Linked DNA regions of Homo sapiens: region 2 is linked to region 1. Evidence: promoter capture Hi-C in 16 types of primary human blood cells and fetal thymus (Javierre and others, 2016). All regions are on one chromosome and are shown on one strand. The core of a region is centred on a gene start or on the middle of the fragment in contact, and the rest is flanking DNA. Distances in the headings are between cores, read along the strand shown.

What was found. Contacts are between HindIII fragments. The CHiCAGO score rates a contact against its expected background, and 5 or more counts as called.
Region 2: a contact is called between a fragment that was not itself captured here and the fragment with the promoter of SLC4A5 in region 1, in 5 of 17 cell types (activated CD4 T cells, total CD8 T cells, non-activated CD4 T cells and 2 more). The highest score is 8.1, in activated CD4 T cells.

The regions. Positions count from the first base shown.
Region 1 is chr2:74,340,341-74,344,912 of GRCh38, reverse strand. It overlaps SLC4A5 (solute carrier family 4 member 5), which reads left to right and starts at 1,497. Exons shown (of 31, transcript NM_133478.3): 1 at 1,497-1,557; 2 at 2,379-2,455. The HindIII fragment of the contact is 2,074 bases long and covers 26-2,099 here.
Region 2 is chr2:73,758,278-73,763,186 of GRCh38, reverse strand. It overlaps DUSP11 (dual specificity phosphatase 11), which reads left to right. Exons shown (of 9, transcript NM_003584.3): 9 at 328-974. The coding sequence ends at 526. Among named protein-coding and RNA genes, the nearest start is that of DUSP11, 19 kb to the left of the region's middle. The HindIII fragment of the contact is 3,144 bases long and covers 646-3,789 here.

The DNA of each region.
Region 1 (4,572 bases), core at 248-2,747:
CCAAGGCCATTTTCTCCACAAAGCTTTTCTTTAACACATGGGGCTGGTAGGTAAGCCATGAACATTTGTGGAACAAGGTAATCCTCCAAACAAGGGTGATTTTTCTTTCACTGAACCCTTCCCTCCCTTTGTGCTTCTTTTTGGAGCCTCACACTCTTCTGAATTTGTTGAATCCCCAACCAGCTGGAAATTCCCTAAGGCCCGAAACTGTTTCTGGCCTAGGCTGTGCTGATCTTCCTGGGACTAAGGGGTTTCCTGGGTCACAGATCTTCTGTGCTAAAACCAGGAAAGCCTCTGGTGACCCAGCATGTGTTGATCTCCCTAGTCTTGCCTGTCTTTGATTCCATGGATTATTAACAGAAACTATAATGTTGGGTTAATGTGTTGGCTTGGGCATGGCCTCCGAAACATGTTTTTTACATGTCTGCCACCAGCAGGCTCTAGATCCAGGAATGAGGCTTTTCCACTAAGGGAAAACTCCACGTGATCTAGGAAGAAAGTGAGGATATCCAACCAGATGATAAATTTCCTATCTGAAAGAGAAGGTCAACCCTGAAATAAGGAGGCTGAAGACCCTTAGAGAAGCCACAGAAGAGACTGGAAGAAGAGGGGTAGAGTTGCTTTTTTAATGGGGCTTCCAGCTCCTACTTTTCTTCCTGTCTGTAAGTCTCTGAGCTTCTGTTCCAGCTCTGTAAGGTTGGGGACGAGAATGCTCTCCCCACTGGACTGTTGAGAGTTCAATGAGGGGAAATGTGTGCATATACCAGGCCCCATGCTGGGTGCCCAGAGACGCTGCGCCTTCCTGGCATGCTTCTCTTCCCCATCGCTCAGCACCGCGTCCCTCACTCCCTCCACTCCCGATTCTCACTTCCTACTCACTGGCTTCTTCCTTCCCATCTTCCTCCAAACTTCCCATTTTCCACTATGTCTCTCTCACCGTATCTTTTTCACTTAAACAAAAATGGAATTCATAAAAACAGAGGCCAAAAGTCAGGATAAACCTGGAAAAATCACCAAGTACGCAAAGTTTTTCTTGCAAGGTTTGGTTTTTTCAAATGCCTTCTTTGTTTTCCTTGCCCATATCCTTCTTCGGAGAGTCAGGATTTGGGGTTTGCAGAGCTGTGTGGCAGTGGAATGTGGAATGTTCTCCTGAATCTCAGTCCCATGAAGAAAAGAGGCAAAAGTCCTGACATCTTTCCTGAGGATTGTCTGATTTAAAAGAGCTGATTCTCCCCAGGCAAATGACTTACCTTTGTTGTGCTGGGACAAGCTGAACAGGCAAGGAATAAACCTCCCTAGAACACACTGATTAGATTAGCCAGTGAGAACCACTGAAGACGCAGACATTAGATTAAAAAACAGAAAAATGAATGTTACTTTTACAGTGGCTATGAATAGACAAAGACTTTTTGGTTTGAAAATAGTTGGTGAGGCAATAGAGGAGGGGCTATGTTAATAGCAGAGATAGAAAAAACGAGAGGTGGATGGTTCCAACTGCAAGGTCCACCCTAAAGGAATTGGAGTCAGGGCCCAGGAGCCACAGGCCACTGCACTGGGGTAAGTAGAGTGGATTTTACATAAATAAAGTTACAGAGTGGTTGTAGGTTCTGGTTTGGAGATGTGAGTGAACCAACTGAATAGAATAGGCAGATTCCCCAGCCCACCAAGAGTCAGATGAGAATTTTATTGCTTTTTGCTAAAGGCCTGTACAAGACTTAGAGCAAAGATAAGGAGTAACCTGATTGTTGAAACTAATCTATAAGTATTCCAACATAGCAAAGGACAAGTAACGGAATGACGAGGTTTTCCTGTAGTAGTGTTGCGATTTTGTTCTGCTGTGTCCCCCTACTCCAGTTTCCTCTGTGAGGGGAGCGTGTAGTGTGTGCATATCTGTGGAATGTCAGACTTCTAAAGTCAGGGGCTGAGACCTATATCTAGTTAGACCTCTGTGCATATTCTTGAGCCATGGGAGTCTCAGTGGTTGATAGTACTTCACACTTCTTCCAGTTCAATAAGGGTTACCTATGGTGTCTCCTCTGAGTCTCCTAGGAGTCCAGAAAACATGAGACTTGTATAAGAATCCACACTTCAACTAAGCTTTCTGGCCCAAAGAAGGCATTGTTACCAAGGATCTGTTTCTTGAGGTCTTTAGGGAGTGAGAGGGAAGGAACGCATGAGGAACCAGAGCTAGTCCCCATCTCTCTCCCTAGAAGTGACAGACTGCATAGCTCTTATGTATCAGGAGTCCTGGAGATCAGCTGGCTTTCCTTAAAAAAGGGTCATCCAGCCGTGATGAAATCCTGACTTAGAAACCCAGTGCCCTTAGCTTTGTGGGCTTCTGTCCCTGAGAAATGGTGTTTTACCCTCCCTCCAAGCAGGCATCCCAGGATTTGGAATTCAGCTGTGAGCTCATGAGCTGATGGATGTTTCCAGGAGTACCCTGAAGACCACCCAGGTATGCTCTCCCCACCTCCTTTATTTTGGATGGACCAGTCTAAGGAGAGTCATCTTTTCCCACACCATTGGTGGCACTCAGTGAGTGGCTTGTTGCTTGACTGAATGCCTGCCCACACCCTCTCCAGTCAAGTTTATCTTGAGTAACTAAACACTTAGCAATGGAGACACTCATACATCTCCACTGCACTAGAAGTAGGGATGGTGGCCATGCCAACAAAGGAGATAACTTTAGCACAAAGGATGTCACAAGAAACAGATAGTAGAGTGTGTTCTCCAGTGTTATCATTTCCCAAACCAGAATCAACTGGTCTTGGGTTTCCTTCCCTCATCCTTCATCTGTAGAAAACTTTGTTTCTTGAGCTACTTCAGATCTACTTCCCTATCTTAAGAGGTGGGCTATGTGCTTCTTCTGCTAATTTATTATCTCAGAAGTACATAATTTGAGCAATTTTATATAGTTTTGAGGACAGGAGCCCTGTAAGAGTCTCTTACTCAGAAATGGATTCAGCTTGGTTTGAGGTTTAATAGGTCATTGCAATGCTCCCTTCTGGTATCACAGGACATAAGCTGGGTTGGGCGGAGTCCCCCTTTTGTGTCTTAGCCTTCCTCTCCTTACTCCAGAGTAAGAGCAGCCCTGATGGAAAAACAAAATTACCATCCATGCCTACTTCATTTCTGCCCCTCTTACTCTAAGTCTGGGCAATCCGCAACATCTTTTTATATTGGACTTCCTAGATCACAGACTCTTTTTTTAGGAAGAGTCAATTCAAGCCACCCAGGACTTATGATCCCTTGCTCTGTGTCGGGCACAGTGTGAGCACAGTAATGGCATGGGCTGCCTGATGTGGGGCAGTCCCTCTTGGTCAGCAATTCACTCAGCAGCCATCTCAGTGCCCCCTGTGTAAATTTGAGGCACTTTGCCAGGCTGTGGGAACAGTGTGGGGTTAAACAGCACATGGTCCTTGCCCTCAGAAAGCTTAAAATCCAAAGTCAGATACAAGGTTATTTAACAGATGCGTGTTAATTAACAATTAAAGCTAATGTGCACTGTTCCATTGAACAAACATGACTTATGTGGTAAAATCAGAAAGCAGCTTGATTTTTGTCTCTTACTGCTCTTTTACATTTACTCTTTTTTTTTTTTTTTTTTTGAGATGGAGTCTCGCTCTGTCGCTAGGCTGGAGTGCAGTGGCACAATAATTGGCTCGCTGCAACCTCCACCTCCTGAGTTCAAGCGATTCTCCTGCCTCAGCCTCCTGAGTAGCTGTGGTTGTAGGCACCCACCACCACGCCCAACTAATTTTTGTATTTTTAGTAGAGATGGGGTTTCACCATGTTGACCAGGCTGGTCTCGAACTCCTGACCTCAGGCGATCCACCCACCTCGGCCTCCCAAAGTGTTGAGATTACAGGCGTGAGCCACTGCACCCAGCCTCTTTTACATTTATTCGGTGGGACTAGCTCTTGCTTTGCCCCTGAATGGAATTTAGGCAAGTCACAAGGTTGTTCCAGCCACCCTTGGTCTCAGTCTCATTTTAATAATTATAATTTCCAGTCCTACCTAAAGATACCACTTCAATCTTGACTTGGAGTGGAGCCTCTTCTGGTGCTGCTAAAGAACAGAGGCCCGTGGTGGATGGTGGTCTGGATGGGGAGTCCCTGGTTTCCACTCTTCCTCACTTATTTAGCTAACCAGGGTCCTCAACCCCGTCAGGGTTGTTGCCTGGAAGAGAAGAGGTGAGAAGAATATGAAAACTATACGTTTGTGATCTCCAGCTCACCAGTGGAACATGGTGATTCTTTTACAGATTCTTGCTGTAACTCCTCTGTTACTCCCCTCAAAGGCCAGCTTTTTCCACCCCTGTAGGAAATTCCTTTCCTACACCCACCCCATTTATCTCATCCTCATGGCCCCATGGGAATTTCTCTGCTTCTGCCCCCACCCATCATCTCTTTCCTGCCCATTTCTCCTCCATCTTGGATGAAGCTACCCTCTTCCCCTGGTCCTGGTTCAGCCTTTCATCGCTGCTCAGTAACATGAACCCCCAAAAAGCCAGCCAGCAAAGCAGAGCAGGCCTGCCTAGCATAGAAAATGCCAGAATTTGGAGAACAAAAG
Region 2 (4,909 bases), core at 968-3,467, 580 kb after region 1:
ATTTATCTCTGTAGGGAAAGGTGGAAAGGCTTCTGGGAATCCACGGTGTGCCAGGGCATTGTAGGTAATTGAAATGTATTTTTTTAATTTAGCTTCATAACAGCTCGTGAAGGTGAAAAGTATTATTAGCCCCATTTTATAAAGAACTTAGGGAAATAACAATTAAGTATTTTATCTGCTTAGGTCACACAGGTAGGAAACAGTAGAATATATATTATTTTGTAAATTTATAAATTTAAAATATTTTATGAAAATATAAATTTAAAATAAATAAAAATTATTGTATTAATCCTAGTAATGGCTTATTACTTTTTGTTTTGCTTTAAGAAAATTTTCAGAGAATCCACATGTTTACCAGAGACACCATCTCCCTCCTCCTGGTCCCCCTGGAGAGGACTATTCACACAGGAGGTATTCTTGGAATGTGAAGCCCAATGCCAGTCGGGCAGCCCAGGATAGAAGAAGGTGGTATCCTTATAATTACTCCAGACTCTCCTATCCAGCCTGTTGGGAATGGACCCAGTGATACAAACCTGTCCTGGAATTCTACCTGGAGACCAGAGCTGGCCTGAAAATTACTGGTGTGACTTTTAATTAGTTCAGGTCTAATCAGGTTTCTTTATTGTTCCCTTATGTATTCAAGCTTAAGGAAAAATTGCATTGCTGTTTACCTCTTTGCTGATAAATTTGCAGTAATTACAGCATTGCAGGAAAAACAATCTGTTATTCCAGTCTTAAATTTTTCTAAAAGAAGACAATATTTTAGAACTGAAGCATTGAGAACTTCCCTTGCAAATTATTTTTAAAATTCTATCTTGTTTTTCTATGTATTTCTTTCTGACTAGACTTGTGATATGCGTGTGTTTATGTACAGAAATTTTTAGTGTTTTTGTTATGTTCTGTTATTGACCCAAAGGCCATCTTTATTTTCTATAACTGTTCAAAATTTATATTAAAATCTACTTAGGAGATAATTTCTTTAGAACCTAGTTACTACCTGTAATTAATTGTGGTATTTTTGTGATTAGATATTACTTTCTTTGGCAGTCAGTTGTGGGATTTGACCAACTTCCTTTGACTGAATTGTCAGATATACGGTCTCACACAGGAATGGATGAACTTTTAGGGATTGTCAATTGAGCAAGAGAGACTGACTGATAAACCAGATTGCTGGTTTATTCAATTATAGTGAGTAAGTTACCTGGCAGGGTAATTGCCATCAACTGAGTAGAACTATCCAGAAAACTTGAAAACTTTTATAAAGGTGATAAACAGAGTAGAATATGTCCATTTAAAGGCTGTGGATGTCTAGCAAGACTACTGTGTTATTGCTCCGTTGTTGAATATAACCTCCTGGGATCTTTCTCCAGTTGCCTCTCCTCTTAAGTGGAGTTGTGGCTTACCTTTTTTTTTTTTTTTTTTTTTGAGACAGGGTCTTGCTCTGTCACCCAGGCTGGAGTGCAGTGGTGCCATCTAGGCTCACTGCAGCCTCTGCCTCCTGGCTGAAGTGATCCTCCCACCTCAGCCTCCCTAGTAGCTGAGACTACAGGTGTGGACTACAATGCCTGGCCAATTTTTTGTATTTTTTTTAATAGAGACCAGGTTTTGCCATGTTGCCCAGGCTGGTCTCAAACTCCTTAGCTCAAGCGAATCCACTCACCTCAGCCTCCCAAAGTGTTAGGATTATAGCCATGAGCCACTGTGCCTGGCCTACCTTCACTTTTTCCAAGTTGTCTCTTCTGCTGCTATACCTGTGGAACACACAGACCCTTCATTGGGGAGGGTAATTATTTTTAGTTGCAGAGGAAGCCAGAAACCTTTGATGGCTCAAAGAAGTGTCTCATCATCATAACACATAGTAAGCCTCAGTAAATACTTGATGAATACTTGAGCAACCTGGCTTCATTTTTAAATTATTTTAATTAATTTATTTTTAAATTTTTGATAGAGATAAGGTCTCACTTTGTTGCCCAGGTTGGTCTTGAACTCCTGAGCTCAAGCGATCCTCCTGCCTTGGCCTCCCAAAGTGCTGGGATTACAGGCATGAGCCACCATGCCCAGCCATTGGCTTCATTTTTTAAAGCATCTGATTTTGAGGATTTGTGTCATTGAATGTCTGATGCTGCATGTGATAGTTATTTTCTCTTCTCTCATCTATGAACAACATCTGGACCCTGATTTTAAGGAGCTACTGTAGCTCAGCTGTTCTTGGCTGTACGTGATTAGCTCAGTCAGGTTGCTGTTGTAGAACCCCAAAAGTTAGGTTCATGTACCCGGTGCACAGTAAGCCAAACACTGACACATTAATGCTTAGAAAGGTTTATTCAATTTGGCCAAAGTATGAGGGTGGGAGAAGCAGATTCTCAAATATGACCTTCCTTTGCATGTAATTGGGGGCTTTCCCTGATGATCAAAGCTGCTCGTGTCCCTTGGCCAGTCAAATTTCTGGATGCCATCAGGGAGGTCAGTATGACCTAAGGATCATTGTTCTTTAAAAGAAAAACAAGTACGTTAATCTTGCAAGCAGCCCCTGGGGGTTAGGATATAAAGTTAATCACTTGTTAGTGACTGCTCTCTACCAAAATGACTACGTGCGAGCGATCCTGCCTGGAGGAAGCTAAGGACAGAGAAAGAAAAATAAGTAAAATAAACACCTGATGATTTTTCTAATATAGGCTGGGTTACAGTATCCCCACTGACACTGTTCCTTTCCTCAATCTTCAGTTGGGGTGTTGACTCAGTCTAACTACTTCCCGCTGGCAAGGGGCATTCCTAGGGGGCTGAGGAATGGAACTTACTTACCTGCAGTTGAAAATATTCACATGTCCCGGGACTTAGGCAATTTTGTTGTAACATTGTTGAACAGGGTGTCAGGAGCTTGAGAAGGGCGATCTTGCAATCCCACATATATAGTGCCACAGCAGTATAATCCACAGCCAAGGAGTATTCCTGTTCCTATAGTCATAGCTAGAATTACCAGTAATTTTTTCCACCAAGAGGGTACTGACCGGAAGTATTAAGATAATCATTGGTTTAGTGACATCATGAGGTTGGACACAGCATCAGTTTGTACATATCTTGAAGGGCCAGGGTGATGTTTCCTGAATTGTCTGGAATGTACACATAGCATTCAGTTTTCATTATGGCACAAGTTCTCCTTGTGTAGCTGTGAAGACATCAAGGGCCATGTGGTTCTACAAAACTGCTTTTTTCATCATAGTCATCTGAGAGGTGACTAAAGAGATGCCTTTGAATGCATCCTTCAGCACATGCTGGGTATAATTTGTTAGGATCTCAACATGTCAGATAACATTTTTTAAACTAACTTGGGGAACAAAAATGGAGAGGGGATGGTCATACCAGTGGAAAACTGACTTGGTCCGTTGATGCAACACATTTGGGAAATTTCCAGGTTGTCCGTTGGTTTTTGCCAAATGGCCCTGGACCTGTGAGAATCCCAGAGCATATTGTCCTATCTAGCCAATGGGTAATCAGGGCCAAAGATTAGTCCCACATAGCCATTGCACTCCGTATGAAGCTAGCCAATTGAATTCCTGGCCTGTGTCCAATTGGTAGCAAACCAGTCAGTTTGTTGCAGCCCTGGAGTATGTTCACACTGGTGGGGGGAGCATCCAGCCCATATTCTTAGTGATATTTGGCCAGTTATCATAAGAATGCTGTTTTTTTTTTTGTTGTTGTTCCCAACATAAAGGGGCAATTTGATTTATGTGGCCGGTGGCAGGATAAGGGTAGGGGAACACAGTCATTCAAAGATAATCATCCCAAGCTTGATAAAAACCTTCCTCAGTATAGTGGCTATTAATAGCCAAAATTTGGGGGGCTGCCAAGGGAAATTCCTTCAGGAGAGGAGGAGCAGTGTATTCAAAAGTTCGTTGAACAGTCTGATATATAGTAAAAGATTTTCTGTGACCTGGGTTGTGAAGGGTTATATTAATGCCAGGCCATAGCCTTACATTTCCTCGTGTTAGCACACCAGAGACCTGATTTTCTTTGGAATAGTTTTTCATAAAAGTTTGTTACTGTACTCAGTTGTTTCCTTGTAAGAGCAAGACCGACCAAGGTAATACCAACATGCTAGAGATAGGTAACAGCCCTCAAACCCTACGAGCTTCTGTAGGCTATCTGCATAATGTGCCCATTGTAGGAAAAGATTGGTTTCAGCAGACACCGTAAGCCATATAGTACTGTGGTGCTTAGCAAGAAGGCTTTACTTATCTGTGGATGTTTTCTTCAAAAGCAGCTTCAGGTTTTTAGTTGGTTCACATGTCCTTTCAGGTCTATTAACCTGATAGGTCGGGCTGAGGCGGGGGCAATTTTTATCCAGGTATAATGTACCCACGGTTTAACTCCTGCCCAATTGATGAATGCGTGGTCAGAAGGACCTCATAGGGTCTTACCCTTTGAGGGGCTAGTTGGTGATTCAGTCCAGTCTCCCTCCAGGTTTTAAGTAGAACTTGGTCTCTAGCCTAGAAAGGGTGAGGTGGCCTGTCCATGGGGAAGAAGCAAACTCATGAACAGAAGTCGGTATTTCATTTAGCAATTTTAAATAATGTCTAATAGCTCCTTCCCTTTCTAAGATTTTATAGCCTGATCTAGCCCCAATGTGGCTAGGAAGGGTCTCTCATACATAATTTCTAAAGGGCTCAACTAGAGCCTGTTTCAGGGAATGACCCAAATCCTCAGCAGGAGAGAAGGTAGTACTTTGTCCCAAGTTAGATTAGTTTCCTGGCACACTTTAGCAGCAGTTTTTTTTTTTTGTTTTTTTGTTTTTTTTGTTTTTGAGACAGTCTCACTCTGTCGCCCAGGCTGGAGTGGAGTGGCATGATCACGGCTCACTGCAATCTCTACCTCCCGGCTTCAAGCAATTCGTGTGCCTCAGCCTCCCAAG